Linked DNA regions of Homo sapiens: all the other regions are linked to region 1. Evidence: promoter capture Hi-C in 16 types of primary human blood cells and fetal thymus (Javierre and others, 2016). All regions are on one chromosome and are shown on one strand. The core of a region is centred on a gene start or on the middle of the fragment in contact, and the rest is flanking DNA. Distances in the headings are between cores, read along the strand shown. Region 1 holds the start of VAMP7 (vesicle associated membrane protein 7). Region 2 overlaps F8 (coagulation factor VIII). Region 3 overlaps FUNDC2 (FUN14 domain containing 2). Region 4 overlaps CMC4 (C-X9-C motif containing 4). Region 5 overlaps BRCC3 (BRCA1/BRCA2-containing complex subunit 3).

Region 1 (2,644 bases), core at 71-2,570:
CACCAGGAAGAGTGTGAAGAGTAAGAAGAGAAGATGGCATAGGGCAGAACCCTATGGAATGTGAACATTTCTAAAGAAAATGAAGAGCTGCCACAGAGGTGGGAGGAGAACCAGCAGGGTGTAGTTCTTGGAAAGAGCTAACAGAATAAAGGGGTTCAAAAAGGAGGGAATAAGGGCCGTGTGTGGTGGCTCATGCCTGTAATCCCAATACTTTGGAAGACTGAGGCGGGTCGATTATGAGGTCAGGAGTTCGAGACCAGCCTGGCCAATATGGTGAAACCCCGTCTCTACTAAAAATATAAAAAATTAGCTGCCTGTGGTGGCGCACGCCTGTAGTCCCAACTGCTTGGGAGACTGAGGCAGGAGAATCGCTTGAACCCGGGAGACGGAGCTGGCAGTGAGCCGAGATCGCGGCACTGCACTCCAGCCTGGGCAACAGAGTGAGATTCCATCTCAAAAAAAAAAAAAAAAAAAAAAGGAATAATGAAACTAAAGTCCTGCAGAGTTGAAATACGGTAATGGCTTAAAAGTATCTATTTGTTTTAGCAACACTGTTGAGAATTCTGTCTGTAAAGGAGAGGTGAGAGAAAGACCACTAGCTTATCTGTGTTTGGTCTGTGTTTGATGAGGGGGCTTGGGGTATGGGGTTAAGAAAGGTGACTTTGGAATGTTTTAGATGAGAGAAATTTTGACAGCCTTTAAGTCCTGATAGTAAAGAGCGAGTTAGCAGAGAGCCGTTGAGGAGTCATGCAACGGAAGGGTTCATCAGAGGAGCTTGACTCTGAGTCGGCAACAGGGAATAGAGATGGAAGAGGGCTGGCTTAGATCAAAGGAGAGTAGTCGTTTATTATTATTATTATTGCAAAAAGAATAGGAGAAAGGATTGGTGAGGGGTACAAGAAAATTAGAAAATTTCATGGCGAAAGTAGAGGCAGTTCCTGTCAGATGAATTCTATTTTGTCTGTGAGGAAACGGGCGACGCTGCCTACTGAGACTAAGCAGGAGAGACGGGGCAAGCTTGGCTCTTCATTTATGCCGCCTACTCATTGCTGGTAGATTCTTTATCTAGCCTGCATCCTCTCATTTTCCTGGATCCCTATACGGCATTTGACGCTGTTTACCACAAGAGCTGTCGAACGAACGTGAAACACTCAGTGATACTCCAACCGGAACTACTACTCCCAGAATGCAGTACGGCTCCTGGGAAGTGCGGGGGGCTGGGAACGCAGCAGGCCTAGCCGTGTCGCCTGCTGCCATTGGAGGAGCGCTCCCACTCCCAAGAGGCCACGCGTAGACGGGGCGCTTCATGCGGAAGTCAGCGGCGTCCGGTCCCAGCCTCCTCTGGGAGCGGGCAGTTGGCGACCCTGCACTGACCCGCGTCCCTCCGTCCCGAGCCCGCGCGCCCTCAGAGGGTGCCCGGACAGGTAAATGGAGTGGGGTGCGCCTGCGGGAGGCGGGGAGAGAACTGCGGAGGGAGGGCGGAGGTGTCGATGGAAAGGTGCTGGGGTGGAGCGAGGAGGCAGTGCAGGGGTGACTTGGGCTTCTCTGGTGTCGACAGTTCCAGTTGTCGGGCAGGACCAGTTTTGGCGAGGTGCGTCTTATGCCACTGGAAAGGCCTCGAGTTAAAGAGTGTCAGAATGCGTCACTTAAGCTGTCATTACAGGAGGGAAAAAATGTTAACTTTCTCTCAGTTTGTATTCTACAAGACCTTTCTGTAGCATTTAAATCTCTTGAGATCGCCAGAGTCTTCTAAAAACTCTCTACGTCCTTGTTCGATGACGTCACTTTCTGCTTCACCTTCTACTTCTGGCTGTTTATGCTCCTTCGTGGGTTCCTAGCCCCTTATTCGCCCTTCCTCCACTGCTCAGTATTGACAGTCCCCTTCTTCCTCTGTTCAGGGACTGTATTTCTGCCTAGACCCGTTTCCTCAGCTTCAGACCTGTTTGGTGTTTTTATTAATGGCCAATGTTTATCAAATTCTGACTGCGTACTTTGGTAAATGCTTTACATCTCCGTCTCCCATAACTCTCACAACCAACCAACTGTCTTCATTTGGCCTCATTAATTGCTTTCAACTACCTGTATCTCCATTATCCCTCCCTTGATCCCAGAGGATACAGTCATGTTTAGGATATTAATTCCCTTTGAATACCTGTGGCTGAGAGCAGATCCATTCATACATTTAACAAATATTTATTGAACGGCTGGTATATGCTTGACACTCTTTTAAGTGCAGGGGATACAGCTGTAAACAAGACTTAGGAGGTTGCTACTCTCAGGAACTTACATGTTTGTGTCTAGAGGGGAAAACAGGAATAATCAGGATTATGTTATATATTGGTTAATGCAAAATAAAACAGGTGGTTGACTTGAAAGGATGGGATCCTATCCTAAGAAAGTCAGAGGTCAGGGCATCGTCCAGAAAGAATAGTTGTAATACCAACAGGAATAATCTTGATCTGTAACATGACTTTTCGTAAACACCTCTTCTTTTCCCCTGTCTAAGCAGTGTTTATTCTTCATTCTTCTATCTCCTCCAAGGTTATTGCATCAGAATTCATGGTTTATCTGTAGTTGGTTTATTCCTTCTAAGACCCAGAGAGAAGAGTGGGGGATTGGATTACTATTAGCTCAACTGCTTTAT
Region 2 (2,644 bases), core at 68-2,567, 890 kb before region 1:
CTCATGCAAGAAAAAGCATTACATATTTGGGTGACATGGAAGATAAGGCAGGAAATGGAACACAACAAGGCTGGAAATGTCACCAGAGAATAGATAATGCATTTTGCACTTTACCTTGAAATTGAATTATTTTATTTGTTTTGTTGTTTGAGATAGGGTCTGGCTTTATCACCCAGGCTGGAGTGCAGTGGCGCAATCACAGCTCACTGCAACCTTCACCTCCTGGGCTCAAGTGATCCTCCCACCTCAGCCTCCCAAGTAGCTGGAGTACAGGTACCCGCCACCATGACCGGCTGATTTTTTAATTCTTTTGTAGAGATGTGGTTTCGCCCTGTTGCCCAGGCTGGTCTCAAACTCCTGGGCTCAAGCAATCTGCCCACCTCAGCCTCCTAAAGTGCTGGGATTACAGGCATGAGCCACCGAAACTGGCAAACTGAAGTATTGTAGAGGCTAGAGTGACAAGATCAGATACTCACTTCAGTAAGCTTCCTTTGAGAGTTATGAGACAGATCATGAGGGCCTCAATTAAGAAGATGGCAATGTAAATTGATAAGGGGGCAAGAAGAATATTATGTTACTATGATTACATAGTGATTACATTAGGAGGAGGAGGAAGAGGCGGAGGTACTAACACTATTGAGGGCCTACTCTATGCCACACAGTGCTCTAGGTTACTTAAGTGAAATCACTCAGCACTCACAACAATCTTATGAAAAATGTACTATTATTTCCATTTAGGAAACCGAGACACAGAGAGGTTAAATAACTTGCCAAAGGTTGTGCACTTAATAATAGATGAAGATAAGAGAAAGTATTTAGAAAGTAGAGCCCAAAGTATTTGTTGACAGTCTTAATGAGGGGGATGAGGCCAGTCCGTTATCCAGCTCCTCTATCTTCTTACCTCATAGCTGCCAGTGGAACTGAGGTTACGTTTTGTTTTCTTGGAATTCATTTTTAACCCCATCTCCTTCATTCCTGAACAGTAATGTAATTTATGATCTTTCTATAATCACCTCCTCTTAATAGTAGCAGAGGATTTCTTTCAGGAATCCAAAATTCAGATTAAGACTCACTAACCTTCATCAAATACAGCAAAAAGTAGTATAAATTTGTGCAAGGTCTGTGTCTTTTCCTTGGCCAGACTCCCTGAAAAAGAAGTGAGAACATTTATCTTCTATTTAAAAAATCTCATTGTAGGAAATTGTCACTAGGAGGAGACAGTTCTTCATCAGTTACTTGACAGTAAGAACAAATGTAGTCTTCTGTCTCTTGATAACTTGGCTTTGATGTCAGGTCTCCTATAGCAGTGTTTCTAAAACTATCTGGAGCAAAGAATTTTTTTATTTCAACTTTGATGAAGACCACTACTTGTGTAAAATATGATAAAAATGAATTACTAAAGAAAAAAATTAAAAACACTTACAAAATACAAGCCCTCACACACTGTGTGATAATAGTGAAATTATAGATAATTTCTGTTACTCTTGTAACTTTTTATACTTCTGCAATTGTAAATTAAAAGTTTTGAGTAAAATAGCAATTGTCCATATTAAACATCTATACTCATGATTTTTTTTCAATAGCCCACAGTGCTTCTAATTATACTCACATTTTAAATAAATACCGTGTATATCGATAGCTGAAGTTTTTAATGGAACAAACTAGCTTGTTTCATGCTTTAACTGTTGAGCTTGTTGGCTATCTTTCTTAGAATTATATATTTTTTAAATTTGACTGGAAACTTTTGTTTACAGGCTTATTTTGAGTAGAAAGATTTTTGTTTATGACATTTTGCCGTTCTTTCTCTCTCTCGCACCCTTAATGCTTAGAAATAAAAATTAGCTTGGACTAAGAAAGCAACAGTACGTGTGCTGCTACTCATCAGGCTGGGATAAGAGACATAGATAAAGCTAACTGCAGAGTTAACAACACCATTTCTCCCAAGGACACATTGCCACTGTATAAACTCACTGAATGCCAACTATTTGCTTTGATTATCTCTTGCTTTCTTACTCAATTGAGTTGTTTGTTCTCTGAATTCACAGCCTGCCAGAAATGTTTGAACTAATAGCAACAAGAATGAAACATCTCATTCTTTCCTAGGTCATCTAAATTACTTTGACACAAAGAAGCAGCTCAATTTAAAGCTCAAGCTTCAGGTAAGGGGTGCCTTGACTTAACCTTTCATGTCTATGTTAACTTTTTAGAACACTTCACAGTCTAGACCTCATGGTTATTTCTTTACACACAACTCTACTTTGCTTCATTTAAATATCACCTAACCTCCACCCTTCCCCAAAATTCTTTACTAACTCTATACAGTATTTCCCTTTGTTTAGGGAGGTGTCCACAGTCTCTTGTTGCCATGAGCCAATAAATCTGACTTTGTTGAACTATAGTGATCTTTGCTGTCCCTTGTGATCATTGGTTGATTAAGCAAAGGATGTGTTCACTATTCTCTATCTAGCAAATCATACCCTAGAATGGAATTTTGGAGATACTGGCCAATGGAAACCTTGGGGATATTGCAGATTCCCCCACTGAACCAAGAAAACTTAGTTCAGTTCCTATTCTAGGACTGGGTTTGCTTTCCCCTCTTCTAGGACTCTGAGTTTCCACAAAGCCATGGCCCTAAACAAAGAGT
Region 3 (2,644 bases), core at 109-2,608, 830 kb before region 1:
TCTGCCTTCATGAAGCTTACATTTTAGTATCGGGTGGGGGCAGGAAGATAGACAGTAATAAAGAAACACATAATTATATTAAACTGGCTACAAGATGTTGCCACTCAGATATCATATGGACATTTTGCATTCAACATATTCAAAATGACATTATCTCCTCCCCTCCCTTCCCCCACCTTTTCCTCTATTCCTCTTCCTTGTTTTTATATTGTAAAAAATGCCACATTCAGGACAGAATCTTGTGCCTTATCCCTTGCAACCATCCTGTCCTCAAACTCAGGAGTGTTTTTTTTTTTCTTCACAAACAGTTCCTCAGGTCTGCTCCCTCCTTGCCATCTCTACCTCGGCCCATTGGCATTCACTTCTCTTCTGGATCGCTACCTCACCGTCTTAACTAGAGTCTCTGCCTTCGTCCTCCCCCTTTAATCTCTTCTCCACAATGTAGCCAGAGTCATCTTTTAAAAATATAACCTGAGAGTTTTAAGGGACTTACTCAAGACCACAAGATTCATAGAGCCAAGATTTGATTTCCTTATGTCATGCTCCTCTTGGGGCTGGCTTTATGTAGGGGGTAGGAAGGAGCTAGGTCATCTTAAGCTAAGTAAGATATGAACATTGCCAGAAATGCATGTTTGTATGTAACTGACAGCTCATCAATTTGTCTGATGTTGGTTTGTTTTTGTAGGTGCACAGGTTTCATATTCCAGAAGGTTGGAAAGTTGGCTGCAACAGCTGTGGGAGGTGGATTTTTTCTCCTTCAGGTCTGTATGTGAAATGTTCTCAGATGTTTGGAAATTCCACCTGCCCATTAAGGAATGTGGTGTGGGGAGTTGTAATACAGTCCTGGCTATGTCACACTAGACTAGCCTTAGCACTTGTTTTCATGTACTATTTTAAATGCTAGTGACCGTTTGAGTCAAATTTTATTCATTATACTAGTAAATGTTATTTGCCAGTCCCATTTTATTTCCTCATGTGGCGACAGAAGTGCAAATTCCTTATCATAGCTCCCTTAAAAGAGTTTTTAAGACCAGCTGAATTATTAAGCGGATGTGATTTCAAAAATACAAGTGTGCTGTGATGATTTAGTGTCATATGCTAATATTATAGCTAGCTTTCACAGAGGGGATGTTGAGCATGTGATGAGAAATGGGAGCTAAGTGACAGTACAGTCAGATGTCGTCTGCTGTCTCCTTGACCCATAGTTTCAGAACCAGTGGTTGCCAGTTCTCTGAGACTGCTTAGGAGAGACTAACAAGCAAGACTTGAAAAAGGGAGCAGTTTCTCCAAAAACAAAAGAAAACTGACATTTGATTGTATTAGGCATACATTTCTTAGCTCTGTGGCATTGGTATTCAAATTTGGCTCCACATTGGAATCACCTAGGAGTTTTTAAAAGAGCCAACGTGTGCCACTCCTGACCCACAGTCTGATTTCATTGGAAAACTTAAAACTCCTGAGGTGATTCTGCTGTGCTGTGGGAGCCATAACTTGCTGAATCATGCCAGAGTCTCTGAATTCACAGCCGTTTGTCTCTTCCCACAGTTGGCAACCCTCACTTTTGCAAGGTAAGTTCTGCATTAGCACCATGATTGGAGTGAGTTTTGCAGATAGGTCAGGTGAAAATCAAATGTATCGAAGAGGGAAGCTGGTAACTGGCTGTAGCTGGGTTGAGTGTGGTATTGCTGCATGACAAATTCCCCCAAACCTAATGGCTTCAAATAATGATCACTTTATTCTCTCTCATGGTTACAGGAGTTTGGGGAGGGTTAAGGTAGGTGCTTGTGGATCAGAGTCTCATGTGGTTACAGGCCAGATGATCAGAGGGTTAGGGTAGGTCTGGACTTGTGGGGCCTCTTTGTGTCTCTGTCTCTGTTTGTCTTCCCTCCTCCTCTCCTTATTTCCCCCCTGTCCATAGTCTCAGTGCTCTTCCATGTGGTCCCTGTGCCAGTATAGGCTTCCTCACACTACCATGACCTCAGGACTCCCAAGCACAGTTCTGCAGAAACATGGTGCAAGTTGCATCTCCTTTGTTGCCCAAGCCTCACTTTTGTTGGCTGCTTCCCTGTGGGCTTGTTACGTGCTGGCTCTGTTGCTAGACAGGTCAGACTCCCTGCAAGGTGGGGCCCCTCCTCACACCTCTCTCTCCTTCCCCTTGACCCTTCAGGTGGAAGTGCAGTAACATCTCTATCCCTGTGGTTTCCCTTATATGCTGCCCCAAACTTCATAAACATTTTAATATTGCTTTGAAATGTCTTAATTTGAGTGTGTCCTCTGTTTCGTTTTGGGGCCCTGACAGAAATAATTGGTATTGAAAATGTCTCCAGAAAGGCACCTCAAAATGAGATTTTGGGGTTGGATAATTCCAATATTCAAGGGGTACAGGGACACTGCTTTGCTGCAGAGGTGAGACATGGAGAATCTGTGGCAGGCACTCATGTTATCTGTCACCAGGGGAGTGAGAGCAGGAGGCAAGCATAATGTTGGGAGATCAGTTATATCACAAGTTATAGTTTGACATAGGGATCCAGTTTCCTTTTTTCCATACTGATAATTGAGCAGAATTTAGTGAATAATTCTTCCCTTTCCCAACATTTGCAGCATTGTCTCTTTCATATATCAGAACCCATGTATGTGTGGCTGT
Region 4 (2,644 bases), core at 46-2,545, 810 kb before region 1:
GTTAGGAAAAGTAAGCTAGCTTCATGGAATTTCTGAGCTGCAAGAGACTTTGGGGATCATGCTGATTTGGAGCTGAGTGAGTGCAAATGAAAGTTATCCATCTAGGTCCTTGTTTTATTTTAATAATTCTGCAGGATGTTACAGGAGCCCATTTTTCCATAGAGGACTAGGTTTAAATTTTGACTTCCTAAGCCAGAAGACCAGAAGCACATTTGAGAGGTGTAAAGGAAGCATACCTCCCAAAGCATTTGAGTGGTAGGGCAAACTCTATAACGATCCTCTGCCCAAGCCCCAGATATCATTTCAGGACCTCACAATAACTTGATGTGCATTTTGCATGAGTCAATCTTCTAGACCTTACTCAGAGCATTATAGCGCAGTTGTACTGTATTTCTACCTTTGGCCAGAGTATAGATACGGCACTGGGGAGCTGCCCCTCAAAACAAAGACCTGCTATTCTCATTAGGTGGGAAAAGAAATGCAGCGTGGGAGGGTGGTTGTTAGAGTCCTCAAAGTGAGACTGTCGAGAGCAACCAGATGCTTCACCCATTATACCCTGAGTGCATCTGACTCTGAGCCTGGTGTAAGCTCCTGTCTTAGTTTTCATACATATGTGCTCTCTCATTTCAAACTCGTCTAAACTTTCTCTTTAACCAAATCCTGATTTCTCTCAATGGCAACACCACCATTCCTGATCCTGCAGACTCAAAACTTATGAATTATCTTGGATTTCTTCCTCTTATTCAGTTGCTACATCCTATATGTCACCAATTCCAGCAGGCACTACAACTACCACTGCAGTTGAGACCAACTTTCCCCAAATACCAGGCTCATTTCTAGCTCCATACCCTTGCTCTTGTTTTCCACTTGCCTAAAATGCCTCCCTGGGCCTCTCTGCCTATCTTAGTGCTATTATAGCAGAGTCCAGGTGCCTGCCTCCTCTATGAAAACTTTAGAAAATTCTTGCCTCTTTTGACTACTGTAGCATTTATATTTAAACAAAGTCACCTTACACATTTGCTTTGCTTATTTCACAAGTCCTGTCTTCCCTAAAGCACAGTATTGTATTCTGCTCAATAGCAGGAATGATACAGTTCTGGGCACCCCAAGTCTCAGGTACTGGTCAAGCAATGTTTCAGTGAACAGGTGTATATGTATGGTGGGTAGGGAAGGGAAACAAAGGAACGCCACAGTGGTTGTCATGATTGGCTATGTATACGTGGGTAGAGATTGATTCTCTAGGCATAAGCCTCTGGCTATATATAATTTTTTTCCAAAGCCCCCCTTTTTTCCCATTTGCAGATACAGTTGTTTTGCCTCTCTTCCTTCCCAGAGCTTTGGAAAAGAGAAATACAAATAAAAACCTGGTAAATACTAATGTCAAAATAAAATATATTAAATTCGGATTTCAAGCACAGAAGACTTAAGTGTGGCCAATAACTGTTTTAAAAAAGTGGAAACCATGTGTTAAGGGTTTCAGGACCATCTCAATTTCATAGATAGGTCCTAGCAACAACCAACATGTTGACATTTAAATTTGTTTTGAATGGAAAACAAAATTGCATTGGTTATATTGACATTAAAAGGAAATAATGCCAGTGGAATAGAGGGCAAAGAGTTTGGAGATGATGGTCTGAGTTACTGAGTCACTACAAAGAGGCCTATGAGTCACTACAAAATATTCTCAGAAGAAAGGCAGTGTGATGTGCTGCTGTGACCCAAAGGTCAACATGCTGGGCATCAGCGGGATGAGCTTGGGAACCACCTCTCAGCACAGTATCCTGGAATTGTGTGTGCTAGCATTCAGAGGGCATGCAGGCCCAGAGAAAGACAACTGCAGTGATCAAGGGACAGAGAAGTCACCATATGAGCATGAACAAAGTCCTCAGCAGAGAAATGCAAAGGCTGAGGGAGAGGGATTCAGATCAAAGCCTATACAATCACAGGTTTTATGAGTGGAAAAATGTGATTCTTAGAAAACTTGCTCCCAACATTTTCCTTGGTCAAATAAGTTTGGGAATCTTGGAGAGTCATAAAGCACATTAGTGTAGTAACTGTTCTGGCAAGTTATGCAGTAAAGAAACTTTATGTTAACATTTCCCAAATTTATTTGACTAGAGAACATTTTATTTGCACATGATACTTGTTTACAAAATTCAGGACTTCTCGAACTAAGACGAATCTTTTAAAACCTCAACATAGACTTAGGTACAAGGTGCAATACAATACATGGAATATAAACTTGTGCAACTCAACTCAAGGAATACTGCCAGCTACAAATACAAATGAATTCCAAAAATGTTTAGATAACTGCATAACTTTATCATCCACTAGAAGAGATTGTCCCCATGAGGGTCACCTTGATTTCGGGGCCAGAGAGCACACTGGCCAAGACAGACAATTTCTTAGTAAGGCATTTTGTAAATTAGGTTTTAAATGGATGACATATAAGATAGAAGGGCTTCCTTAGGTAGTAATCTAAGTAAAACTATCATTTTTCCTTTACAGAATAAATTCTTTTGTGTCTTTTTTAAAAAAGTATAGTTTGCTTTAATTGCCAGGTTGATGAACAGTTTTTAAACATTGATCAGTTGAATACACTTATTTTATTAGAAGTCAATTAATAAACTCGTCCAATTACAAT
Region 5 (2,644 bases), core at 67-2,566, 790 kb before region 1:
AGAACAGATTGCCAAAATAAGTGAATGTAAGCCATTGGGCAAAACTGTAATCTGCAGTGTTTCATTGTGACACCTGATCTTTTGTATCCTTTATAAACAATGGTCTGAAGACTAAATTTAGCCTCTGTTTAGTTTTTGGCTTTTTTTTTTTTTTTTTTGAGACGGAGTTTTGCTCTCGTTGCCCAGGCTGGAGTGCAATGGCACCATCTCGGCTCACTGCAACCTCTGCCTCCCAGGTTCAAGCGATTCTCCAGCCTCAGCCTCCCAAGTAGCTGGGATTACAGGCATCCGCCACCACACCCAGCTAATTTTGAATTTTTAGTAGAGAAGGGGTTTCTCCTTGTTGGTCAGGCTGGTCTCAAACTCCCGACCTGAGGTGATCCGCCTGCCTCAGCCTCCCAAAGTGCTAGGATTACAGGCAAGAGCCACCACGCCTGGCCGTTTTTGGCATTTAATATTTTAATCCTTTCTAATGTTGTTATTTGGTGCCTGTTTATTATCTCTTTTCAAAAGTTCAGTAACCATATCAAGCAGAATTAAGAAAAAAATCAAGTAACCATATAGGAGGGGTTTCTACTCTCTGGAATGTTGAATTTATATCACAACCACTTCCATACAATGGCTTCCTGTAAGATTTTCCTCTGTAATTGTTCCACACTTCTATTCTTTAGTAGCAAGCCTAATAAATATGTTCACTTTCCTAGAAGCTGTCCATCAAAAGGCTTTTTCTAGGAAATACTTTCTCTCCTTTTTAATTTCTCTTTCTATTACCACATTCCATAGCAGAGCTACTCTTGGGCTAGGCAGGCTAGAGTTATTAATAAGTTTTATTATTTAATGGCAGACTTTCGATAGTATTACCCTAACCTAGCAAAACATTTTTACTTTGATATTGTCCTTAGGATATATTCCTGTTTTGCCTGTACAATCTGAATCCTAGGAAGATTATATGTTGCTGTTATCTTTAAATCTTTAAGTCAATCTTTAAATCAATAAGCTGTGAGACACAGCTTATTGACAGAAGATTTTTAAATTTTCATTTATTTTCAGATGTTCGCACACAAGCCATGTACCAGATGATGGATCAAGGCTTTGTAGGACTTATTTTTTCCTGTTTCATAGAAGATAAGAACACAAAGGTATTGTGTGTGCATGTGTGTGTGTGTGTGTGTGTGTGTAGGGTCTGTGTGTGTGTCTACACACAGAGTAGAGAAAAATCTCTTTGCGATTTTAATAGGATGGTCAGGAAAGGTTTCAAGGAAAAGGGTCATTGAGTCAGGACCTGAAGAAGGTGAGGGAACAAGTCTTGTGGATTTCTTGGGGAAAGAACGTTCCAGGCAGAGGAAATAGCCAGTCCAAAGACCCTAAGGTGAGTGTGGCATGTTCAGGAAACATCAAGGAAGTTGGTGTGGCTGCAGCAGAGTGAGGAAGACCATGACCATACATGCCAGTTTGCCTCTGTCAGTCCCAGTTTTACCCTATTATCCTAGTGACCTTCCCTCTTGGAAGTGTCCCAGTTTGAATGATAACTCATTTAGTTGTCCTAAACAAGGTCCAGATCTTGTAAGGCCTTGGATTTGACTCTGAGTTGGGAAGTCACTGGAGGATGACTTTATGTTTTAATGGGATCTCTCTGGCTTCTGTGTAGACTGAACAGTGGGCAGAGGGTGTGGGTGGAATCCGTGGCATCAGTGAAACCTGTTAGGAAGATATTGCTGTAATCTAGACAAGAGATGATGGAGGTTTGGTCATGGAGGTAAGAGTGAAGATAATGAGAAGTGGTTGGATGCTGAATATAGTTTGATGGCTACTAATAGTAACAACTACCATTTATCACCTATTGTATGGCATGTACTTATTAGGTGCTTTACGTAAATATGCTGTAACCCTGACAAAAACCCAGAAGGAGTATTATTCCCATTTTATGAATGAACAAACTGAAGCTCACAGAGGTTAAACAGTTTGATCAGTGGCCAGTCTTGCCATTCTTTATTTGGATTCTGTTTGAATTTTATGTTCATGTCAAGAGGTTATAATATGTGTCAGTTCAAACAAAAAGAAAATTACTACTTAACATTGTAGGTATGAATTCTGCTAAGAATACCAATAGTGTCTTATTTAGTGCATTAGTTATATTCTCAGAATCTGTGTTAATAATGAATATTTTCCATAAAATCAGTTTTCCAGAAACACTAAAGTTCAGTACCTTGAACTTTATACATCATTTGAAATGCTTTCAACCTTGTCATCATGCGTTTATTTATTTATTGTCATCATAAGTAGTTGTTGAATAAGTTTGTCAGCTTTCAGGATGGCAGTTTGAATGTTCAGGTTCTTAGGTTCCTGGTTCTTGTGTTTGTTAACAATTCCCTGCTGTTACATGAGCAGATGTTTGGTTGTGACCATCTTATGTTGACTGAGCATATGATCCTTTTTATAGAAATTAATTTATGGCATATTCCATCTTTGGTATCTCTTTTAACATTCTGCTTCTAGAGGGACCTTTGGGGTCTTTTTCAATATTAATCTTTCTTTGTGTGATATTTCTTTCTTTCTTTTTTCCTTTGATAGACTGGCCGGGTACTCTACACTTGCTTCCAATCCATACAGGCCCAAAAGAGTTCAGAGTAAGTATGAGAGAGAC

Evidence for each region. Contacts are between HindIII fragments. The CHiCAGO score rates a contact against its expected background, and 5 or more counts as called.
Region 2: a fragment that was not itself captured here is called in contact with the fragment with the promoter of VAMP7 in region 1 in 4 of 17 cell types (naive CD4 T cells, activated CD4 T cells, naive CD8 T cells and 1 more); the score reaches 7.7 in naive CD4 T cells.
Region 3: a contact is called between a fragment that was not itself captured here and the fragment with the promoter of VAMP7 in region 1, in 6 of 17 cell types (monocytes, M0 macrophages, total CD4 T cells and 3 more). The highest score is 7.6, in monocytes.
Region 4: a contact is called between a fragment that was not itself captured here and the fragment with the promoter of VAMP7 in region 1, in 6 of 17 cell types (total B cells, monocytes, fetal thymus and 3 more). The highest score is 7.0, in total B cells.
Region 5: a contact is called between a fragment that was not itself captured here and the fragment with the promoter of VAMP7 in region 1, in 2 of 17 cell types (non-activated CD4 T cells and total B cells). The highest score is 5.3, in non-activated CD4 T cells.

The regions. Positions count from the first base shown.
Region 1 is chrX:155,880,025-155,882,668 of GRCh38, forward strand. VAMP7 (vesicle associated membrane protein 7) reads left to right here and starts at 1,321. Exons shown (of 8, transcript NM_005638.6): 1 at 1,321-1,424. The HindIII fragment of the contact is 3,926 bases long and covers 1,016-2,644 here.
Region 2 is chrX:154,986,160-154,988,803 of GRCh38, forward strand. It overlaps F8 (coagulation factor VIII), which reads right to left. Exons shown (of 26, transcript NM_000132.4): 5 at 1,078-1,146. Among named protein-coding and RNA genes, the nearest start is that of F8, 35 kb to the right of the region's middle. The HindIII fragment of the contact is 1,668 bases long and covers 484-2,151 here.
Region 3 is chrX:155,045,824-155,048,467 of GRCh38, forward strand. It overlaps FUNDC2 (FUN14 domain containing 2), which reads left to right. Exons shown (of 5, transcript NM_023934.4): 3 at 686-761. Among named protein-coding and RNA genes, the nearest start is that of FUNDC2, 20 kb to the left of the region's middle. The HindIII fragment of the contact is 2,690 bases long and covers 14-2,644 here.
Region 4 is chrX:155,066,656-155,069,299 of GRCh38, forward strand. All of the region lies in intron 1 of CMC4 (C-X9-C motif containing 4), which reads right to left. The region is part of intron 1 of MTCP1 (mature T cell proliferation 1); the gene reads right to left. Among named protein-coding and RNA genes, the nearest start is that of CMC4, 3.2 kb to the right of the region's middle. The HindIII fragment of the contact is 3,486 bases long and covers 1-2,644 here.
Region 5 is chrX:155,088,213-155,090,856 of GRCh38, forward strand. BRCC3 (BRCA1/BRCA2-containing complex subunit 3) reads left to right here. Exons shown (of 11, transcript NM_001018055.3): 6 at 1,051-1,139; 7 at 2,572-2,627. Among named protein-coding and RNA genes, the nearest start is that of BRCC3, 18 kb to the left of the region's middle. The HindIII fragment of the contact is 4,571 bases long and covers 1-2,644 here.